2 separate regions of the Homo sapiens genome follow, and region 1 is linked to region 2. The links are contacts of gene promoters, found by promoter capture Hi-C in blood cells and fetal thymus (Javierre and others, 2016). All regions are on one chromosome and are shown on one strand. Each heading gives the region's core, a stretch centred on a gene start or on the middle of the fragment in contact. The rest is flanking DNA. Distances are from core to core; before and after follow the strand shown.

The links. Contacts are between HindIII fragments. The CHiCAGO score rates a contact against its expected background, and 5 or more counts as called.
Region 1: a fragment that was not itself captured here is called in contact with the fragment with the promoter of LINC01352 in region 2 in 1 of 17 cell types (naive B cells); the score reaches 6.3 in naive B cells.

Annotation. Positions count from the first base shown.
Region 1 is chr1:222,448,564-222,453,676 of GRCh38, forward strand. No RefSeq gene overlaps it. Among named protein-coding and RNA genes, the nearest start is that of TRT-TGT2-1, 14 kb to the right of the region's middle. The HindIII fragment of the contact is 6,115 bases long and covers 1-5,113 here.
Region 2 is chr1:220,827,951-220,832,468 of GRCh38, forward strand. It overlaps LINC01352 (long intergenic non-protein coding RNA 1352), which reads left to right and starts at 1,305. Exons shown (of 4, transcript NR_110797.1): 1 at 1,305-1,492; 2 at 2,743-2,957; 3 at 3,192-3,433; 4 at 4,163-4,479. The HindIII fragment of the contact is 6,544 bases long and covers 1-2,913 here.

The DNA.
Region 1 (5,113 bases), core at 1,472-3,971, 1.6 Mb after region 2:
ATTTCACTGATCAATTTATCTCTAAGTGAGAGTGTTTGGCCTTAACACCTTACTCTCAATCAAGTGAGAAAATTCCTGCTGGGTGGACCCCCTCTCTCAGAAAAGAGTCTTTTGGGTCAAATTGGTAATGAAGTTGTAATCTGAAACAGTTTCACACCTGAGCTCCTAACAACTCTAGGAGAAAATTCAGCTGTTGGGTGTGGCTAAGATTCATAAATATCATCAATTTGTTAAGAACTTAGATTATAATCAACCATAGAGCTAATCTGTTAGTTACAGAACACTGTTTTGGGGGGTATTTTGGTTATTTTGTTTTGTTTTGTTGAGACAGCATCTTGCTTTGTCACCCAGGCTGGAGTGCAGTGGCATGATCATGGTTCACTGCAGCCTTCCTGTGCTCAAGAGATCCTCCTGTCTCAGCCTCCTGAGTAGCTGGGACCACAGGTGTGTGCCACCATGCCCAGCTAACATTTTTATTTTATTTTATTTTTTGCAGAGATGGGGGTCTTACTATGTTGCCCAAGCTGGTCTCAAACTCCTGAGCTCAAGTGATATTCCTTCCTCTCCTCCCAAAGGATTGCAATCACAGGTGTGACCCACTGCACCCAGCAGAACATTGTTTTAATGCTGTGGTATATAAATTTGTTGATTTCTTTAGGCCAGTGCATATATATTACTTGTTGATGTAAATAATCTGTTATATGAATTTGTTGGTTTTGCTCATCTGTGTACCCTAGGTCTTCAGAAGCTCTGATGAGCAGGGTGTCACATATACCCAGGCCTCCCCAACGTTAAGGGACAAAACACCTTTCCTATCACACACACTGCTGCCCCCTTAGACTGCCATCCTATACCTTGCTTTCCTTCTCTTATCAAACCCCCGTCACAATAGCCTGCAATACTCCAATATTTGAAGCTCCTGAAATATCATCAGTTCTGCTCCACTCAGCTGCATTCTCCAATGACCTAATTACCAAATTCAGCGCATTTTATTTGATTTTCTACAATGTTTCAAACTGCTAGCCAGCCCATCTGTTTTGAACCTCTTGCCTTCTTTCCCAGACAAGATAACATCTCTGTGCTCCCATTGTTCCTCAGCCCCAACCTGCACCTCATTTCCCAAACTTCAGGCCCCAGCTGCTGATCCCCTAGGTCCTAGGGGCTCACACACCCTTTGGCTTCAGCAGCAACTTTTTTTTTTTTTTTTTTTTGAGATGGAGCCTCACTCTGTAGCCCAGGCTGGAGTACAGTGGCACAATCTCAGCTCACTGCAACTTCCGCCTCCCAGGTTGAAGCGATTCTCCTGCCTCAGCCTCCTGAGTAGCTGGGATTACAGGCATGTGCCACCACACCCGGGTAATTTTTATATTTTCAGTAGAGATGGGGTTTCACCATGTTGGCCAGGCTGGTCTCCAACTCCTGATCTCAAATGATCCACCCACCTTGGCCTCCCAAAGTGCTGGGATTATAGGCGTGAGCCACCATGCCCAGCCCAGCAGCACCTTAACGAGGACACACATCTCCAACTCAGGCCTCCCCCAGGCTGCAGCCTGGAATGTCCAGCGGCATGTGGAACTCCACCTGGGTGGCCTGCAGCTCAGCAGGCCCAACACAGGATCAGTCTCCAGTTTCCCAAACCAGCTTGTCCCTTGACTCACATTCCTCATCAGGAGCCAGGCTCTGTTCTGTCACATATCCCACAAGAACAGACTGGGTGCCCACCCTGTGTGGGCATTGCCCAGGGGCGGGGGCTGCAGCATTGAACAGGACAGGGCCGCTGTCCTCATGGATGGGGGAACCCACACGGTAAGCCAAAAATAAACATAAAATATTACATCAGGTGGTGATGAACGCTATGAACAAAAATACAACAGGCTTAGGAGATCATGGCGGGGAGGCCTCCATTTTCTTTTCTTTTTCTTACCATTTTAGGAGTTTATAGTGTTTCACACAGATATTGAACACTCTGGGTCAAGATGAGCTCATTCAGTAAGGGAACCTGGAGAAAGAAAAGAAGCAGGGGACCTGTCCCGGGATGTGTCGACATTCAGAGATTTGGAGGAGAATGAAAAGGCACCACACCTGGGCCAGGTGTGGTGGCTCACGCCTGTAATCCCAACACTTTGGGAGGCTGAGGGAGGTGGATCACCTGAGGTCAGGAGTTCGAGACCAGCCTGGCCAACATGGTGAAACCCCGTCTCTACTAAAAATACAAAAATTAGCCAGGAGTAGTGGCACACACCTATAATCCCAGCTACTTGGGAGGCTGAGACAGGAGAATCACTTGAACCCGGAGGCGGAGGTTGCAGTGAGCCAAGATCACACCATTGCACTCCAGCCTGGGCAACAGAGTGAGACACCATCTCAAAAACAAACAAACAAACCAAAAACAGAAAAAAAAAACAAAAAGGCAGCCTGGAGACAGAAGGAGCTGTTGCTGCCTGAAAGTTAGAAGAAAATCAGGAGTGCACTTTCCCAGAAGCAAAGCAAAGAAACATCCCTAGAAGAGTCGGCGGAGCCCAGGGCCCCAGTAGGGTGAAGACAGCATCGGCCATTGGCTTTGGCAACCTGGAGCTCGAAAGAGGAGACAAGGGTAGTTTCAGTGGTGCATGGGAGGGAACCCGTGAGAGAATGGGAAGTGAGGGATGAAGCAGACACAGCAAGAGCACACAGCCCTTCTCAGGAGCTTTAAGAGAAACAGGAGCAGAGAAATGGAGCAGGAGTTAAAACTAAGTCTAACATGAGGCGTTTTATGTTAGGAGATTCCAGCATATTTATATGCTGATGAGTATGAGCCAGGGGAGAAGGAAAATGTGAAGATGTCAGGGAAAAAGAAGTAATTGTAGAAGCAAACACTTGATTGGAGGGAGGGTTTAGGAACCATAGCACACATAGGGAGTTTGGCTTGGGACGAGCAGAGAGTTTTCTTGAACTCCTCCCTTAGATCCCTAATCACTTATCTCTAAGCTATACTCGTGACATCTTAAATCTTGAATCAATCACCAAATGTAGTAATTTATTCACCCCATAGTATTGATCATCTTTTGTCCCTTGATTTTCATTCTCACTGCCGTCATTTGGTAACTAAATTATCACATCTTGGAGAATCACTTGAACCTGGGAGGCAGTGAGCCGAGATCGTGCCACTGCACTCTAGTCAGGGTGACAGAGCAAGACTTCATCTCAAAAAAAAAAAAAAGGTAAAAGATGTTTGTTTTAATTTTCAAACCATAACCACACTGAGCCCCTACCTGCCCAGAGCAGCAGGATGACCAGTCTCTTTCCATAATTCCCTTCTCCAAATACCCTGAGTACAGATAAGGTGGCACCTGCAGTCCATGGATCAGCCTGTGAGAGACTCCAATGCTCCCCTTGAAGCTACAATCACTGATGTCCAGACACTGGTCTCTGCTGCCTCCTGTCCCTTCCCTGCTAAGGCAAGGGCCTGGGGTCCCTGTTGGAATCCAGAGGATGAAGCAGGGCAAAGACAAGCCCCCAGTAGCTAGCCACAATGGTCACCTTGCTCATCAACATTCAGCAGACAGGGGAAGAGGAGGAGAGATTGCCCAGGGAGATTGTATAAGCCAGGCCTGGAAGGGATACCCATGGCCACACCTAAAGAGCCTGGAATATTTGGTCTAGCTGTATTCCCAGGAAGAAGAGAAAACAGGTTTGTTGGGTGGTAGTGACACATGATCATCTTACGAACCTGGGATAATAATAGATGTTGCATAAGGACCGGCTGAGGATACGAGATTATAGGTGACACAAAGTTTCTTAGCATATTACTTGGCACTTACATGATGGGCAAATGATCAGCTTCCTAAGTCTTCTCCCTTTTTCCCTCCTCCCTAGTCTCTCTTTTCACCAATCCTTTCTACCATTTGTTTCCTCATTAGTATTTCTAAAAGTTCTACTTTTCTCAAGTCATTACCTACTCCCCACCCCAATCAGAAAATGCTGGTAGTTCCCCCATTGCCTTCAGGACGAAGTCCAAATTCCAGAACCTGGCATTAAGTCTCCCACCCCAAAGGGATCGCTCTTCCACCCCTATTCCCATCATGAAGCTGCTCTATTCTCAGAACACACCAGGTGGGTTCACTGCAAGTGTAATGTGTCCCATCTCTGCCCCCACCCAAATCTTATTCATGTTTCAAAAACGAATTCATATCCTACCTTTTCCATGAGCCTCCTCTGACCACGCAGGCATCCCTTCCTCAGTTGAAGTCCTGTAGCACACATCATTTCTTCTCACTGGACATGTGTGACATTTCTTCACATTATTCATTAACTTCCGTCTGTGTGAATCTTCCTCCCACAATGGTACTGGAGTTCCCTAAGGACAAGAACCATGCCTCACTCTAGATTGCCTAGCACAGTCCTTTTTGCAAAAAAGATGATTAAATAAATGTATTAAAGCACACATTTCAAGAGTAAGATGTACTAGGAAGAGCTCAGATCTGAGCTTTAAATCCCAGGTACAACATTTGCAAGTTGCATGGTTAGAAACTTCTAAGTCAGAGCTAATTACAGCTACCTGACAGGGGGGTTTTGAGTATTAAGTGAGATAATGTATATAAGGCACCTAATATGTACCTGAAGCACGGTGGGCTCTCAACAAATTCCCTTCTCCTGCCACCCTACCTGAAACTGACATAGAATGACAAGGGACAAACCTGTTAGGAGACAGGCAAAGATGATAAAGGTACTTTCCATTCCACAGCTCAGAGATCCTGTTCCAGGAAGCATCTGTCTTGACAAGGTGTGAGGACTCTAAGGGAGGCTGAAACTCTAAGGGAGACAATGAGATGCTAACAAGCTGGAAATCAGATGCATTTCAAGAACCATTTACACCCCAACAGGCTGACCTCAGAAGGGCACTCGAGACTGCCCACTGCTTTGTACTGCAGGAAGGTGAGTGTTCAACCCTAAAGAGGCGCTGGTCCAGGAAGCCCTGGTTCAGTATCCCAGTGGCTGAGGTCTGACCTGTAGCCTGTTCTCAACCAAATGGAGGAAGATGGGGGGTCACTCAGGCCCAGACCAGAAAGCAGGCTCACCGCCCTCTTACTTGCTGTCAAATTTCCTAACCAGTCATTAGAAGAGTCACTCTGTG
Region 2 (4,518 bases), core at 55-2,554:
CTTCCTTGTCCTGTACTCACCCCACCTGGTGTAATTCACCGTAATGCAGTGAACTTCCACATGGCTGCTGGGCATGCTTCCCAAAGCCAGCCCCTGGGCAGGGTTTCCCTTAATTTAGACCCCTGTCCCTACCTCTCCAAGTGCAAAGTGTACAAGGCTACACGCCCAGCTGCCCCCCACCCCCATACACACACTGGAGAGACCAAATGTTTGAGATCACTGTTGGGTAGCTGGGTCAAGAGAGCTTCATAACAATGTTGTTGGCATGTGGAGAGCTTTTCTTTTTCTTGGATCCCAACTGGAAATTATCAGCTTCGCCCCATGCTGACATGCGAATGTCCAGGCCTGCCTTTCTGCTGCAGGGCAATGCTCCAGGTTACAACATCGACACCAAGCAGTTTGTTGAGAAAACTTTGGACCTCATGAGCTGGGCAAGAGCGGCCTGGCAGGTGGTAGGAGAGCAGCCTGTCCATGCCTCAGCTGTGGCTCCACTGGCTCTGTGACTGTGCAGATTTTCTAACTTTTGAAGACCTCTGTTTGGATATCCATAAAATAGGTAAGATGGTGCTAATACCTACCTGTGATGTTGTGAAGATTTAATAGCATAATACTTAAAAGCACTTTGCATACATTAGCAAAGTGCCTAAATATTAGTTATTTGGCGGAGGCTATTAACCAGTGTGCTATGAGGTGCAAAGTAAGTTGTTACCAATAACTCAAAGAACTCCAGTTTGCAAATGTTTTACTTTTACTTAAGAGAATCTTTGCGGGAGAATTAAAACCAATTAATTCCCACCACTGGCCAAGAGCTCATGCTGTAATTATCCAAGACAGAATAGCTCAACAGAAAACCAAGTCATGCAATTCTGAGCACTTGTCCTTGGGATGCCACTTTGGGGCTCCCATATCTGAAATCATTTTGTTCTCAGTCCACCTGTGTGACATTTCTGTCCTGCTCAGCCACGGGTTCACAATAATCAAGGGAATGACCCAAGGGATTCACTTCTTCCAAGCAGCCGATGCCTTTGGAAGTTATGTTGACATTGCTTGTTTAAACCTAGGGCAAGAAATCCTTTCTCTGCCAGACCTGACTCTTCAGGCACACTCCTCAGTTTGGAGACGTGACTTGCCATGTAGTACTGAGAGGGAAAACAGGCCAGAAACAGCCTTGTTGAAAACTTCTTTTCTGCTTAGCTGCCCTCTGAACAGTCACCATAAAGATTGTGAGGTGCTGGAGCCAGGGATGACCTCATAAAGCCCTTTGCTAAATACTTAGTGAGCTGGTACTGTGGGCCAGGCACTGTGCTCATCATGAACAAAACCAAGGCAGACAACACTGTCATTAATGGAGCTTATCATGTAATACGGAAGCCTGGGATAAGCAACAAATTACACAAGTGACAAATGTGATGAGTGCTGTGAAGCAGAGTGCGGGGTGCCCAGGGAATCAGCAGAGCCCTGGAGGATAACAGCCTGAGCTCCAGGAAGGAAGGTTGTGGTGGTGCTTAGGGTCAGAGTGGGGACAAGCATTCCAAGCAAAGGGAAAAGCACATACACATGCTATATTAGTCAGGTTTCTCTAGAGGGACAGAACTAACAGGATAGATGTATAAATGAGGGGGAGCTTATTAAGTAGTATTGACTTGCATGAGCACAAGGTGAAGTCCCACAATAGGCTGTCTGCAAGCCGAAGAGCAGGGAAGCCAGTCCGAGTCCCCAAACCTCAAAAGTAGGGAAGCTGACAGTGCAGCCTTCTGAAGGCCCCAGAGCCCCCGGCAAACTGCTGGTGTAAATCCAAGAGTCCAAAAGCTGAAGAACTTGGAGTCTGTTGTTCGAGGGCAGGAAGTATCCAGCACGAGAGAATGATGAAGGCTGGAAGACTCAGCAAGTCTACTCCTTCCATGTTCCTCTGTGTGCTTTTATTCTGGCTGTGCTGGCAGCTGATTAGATGGTGCCCGCCCAGATTGAGGGTGGGTCTGCCTCTCCCAGTCCACTGACTCAAAAGTTAATATCTTTGGCAACACCCTCACAGACACATCCAGGAACAATAGTTTGCATCCTTCAATCTAATCAAGTTGACACCTAATATTAACCATCATACATCCCCTCCATGGGAAGGAGCATGATGCCTTATATAGTCTACTACCCTCAAACCAATCCTACTCCCTCATCCCCAACACCTTCTTCCCCTGGAACTCTAGATAGAGTTTCTTGACTAGACACATAAGCACAATTAGGCTATGCCTAATTATGAAGCCATCCCGGTTTATACATTTTCTTGTTATACTTGCCTATTTACAAGTTTTTCTTGTGAAAACTTGCCTATTCTTTTTGCTGCCTCCTCTCCACCCTAAAAGAGAAACTCTAAGGAAACACTCCCAGAGTTTATTATAGTTATTATGACTCAGATTTGAAGACTAGAATTTAATGGAGGTTTTCCTAACATTCCTTGGGGACTTGAAGGACTTTTTTTCCCACCAGCCACAGAAGTAAGATTATAAAACATTTATTTATTAAAAGAAAAGAAATCTTCTGGGCTCAAAGTTCTAGTTATTCTAAAAGCAGAGCACTTGTTCCATGTTTTCATATCGCCTCCCCACACCTACCTCTCCTCTCCCATTCTCTATTTCTTTATTTCTGTGCTGTAGTAATAAGCAAAACAGAGAAGCAATTGGTTTTAGTCTTGGATCTTGACCTTGCTGTGTGGCCTTGGCCAAGTCACTTCCCCTTTCTCAGCCTCAGTTTCTTCAAGTGTAAAATGAGAGATTGGATGGATCAGAAGATTCAGGCCTCCTTGAAAATCCCCATGGGTGAACCCCAACACACAGGCTATTCAGCCAGCAGCCCCAAGTCCTTTATGAAAAGCCAAGGTTGATTGAAACTCTCCCTTCTCAGGAGAGAAACTAGAGGCAAAGCTTCCTCATCAGCAGAGATAAACTTGGCAGGAGCCAATTCAGGTACCAGTAAAGGATATCTTCTTCTGCAGGCCAGCCTCCCTCTCTCCAGCTTGGTTCAATCCTGCATTCATTGACACTGCACTTCTATAAGCCCTTAGAACTCTGGGAATTCTCTCCTAGTTTTCCTAGGTATGCTTGCTGTTTCTACATGGGTTTCCTGTGAATGACCAGACCAATAATCAAATGCCTCCAGGACCCATAACACAAATGAGAAGAGTTCTCTCATTATGACAGGTAGGACCATGGCCAACTCAGGGCTCGTGCTTGATCGAAGGGGATCTGTGTTAGTCAGCATTCTCCAGAGAAATGGAACCCATTGGATAGATATGTAAAGAGATTTATTATGGGAGTTGGCTCATGCAATTGTGGAGTCCTAGAAGACCCACCACCTCCTGTCTGCAAGCTGGAGAAACAGCAAAGCCAGTGACGTAATTAAGTCTGAATCCAAAGGCATAAGATCAAGGAGAACTGATGGTGTAAGTCCCAAAGTCCAAAGGCTTGAGAACCAGGAGCTCTGATATCTAAGGGAAGATGTCCCAGCTCCGGAAGACAGAATTCACCCTTCCTCTGCCTTTTGTTTTATTTGAGCCCTCAATGGGCTGGATGATGCCTATTCACATTGGTGAGGGTGGATCTTCTTTACTCAGTCTACTGATTAACACCTGTTCCAGAAACGCCCTCACAGGCACACCCAGAGATATTGTTTTCCCAGCTATCTGGGCACCCCTTAGCCCAGTCAAATCAACACATAAAATTAATCATCATAGGCTCTAAGTTCTACTTAGCTCCAACCAGTTGGAGTCATTTTGGAATAAGTGTAAAGTGTTTTCAGATATTCTGATCTTACAAGTGAAGCTGGAAATTAGCATTTTTAAGTAAAGATGACTCAATTAAGAAAAAACAAAAACAAAAACCATGGCACGAGCAGAAGACGGTGCATCAGATTCAGGCCTGTGGTTGCTGGTTGGTTACCTGTGGGTGTAAGCAAAGTACTGGGTCCTTTCCCATTCTAGACTATATTTACAAAATCAGTAATGCTTAGCTATGCATTCTTTCATTTAACAATTATTTGTCAACTACCATGAGCTGGTATTATGTAGAATGCTGGTAAAATAGATAACTAAGACCCAACACATGTGTAAATGAGAATGAGTGTGATATAATCAATGTCTCCTGGGCTAGGTGTCTCTTTTTTGCTTCCACAGCACCTGTGTATACTTCCATTATGGCATGTAACATGCTGGCAAGAAATTGATTCATTGGGTTGTGTCTTCTCAGCTGCCTGAAGAATGAAATCATATACTCTAGTTTCATATGCCCAGCATTGTACACAACTTGACACATCACAGCAGCTCTAGGAAAGCACATAGGCTGACAACTGAGTGAACAACCCACTGACTGTGTGTCGTTCAGGGTTGGGAAAGCAAGGGCAGGTCTCTGTGCCCCATCTCTAGCTTTTCCTCAACTTAGGCTTTATAAACCCTTGCATCAAAAAATAAAAGCTAAGGCTAATTGTTTCAAATTAGGCTATCTTATTTCTACCCAGTAACTTCCCCACCAC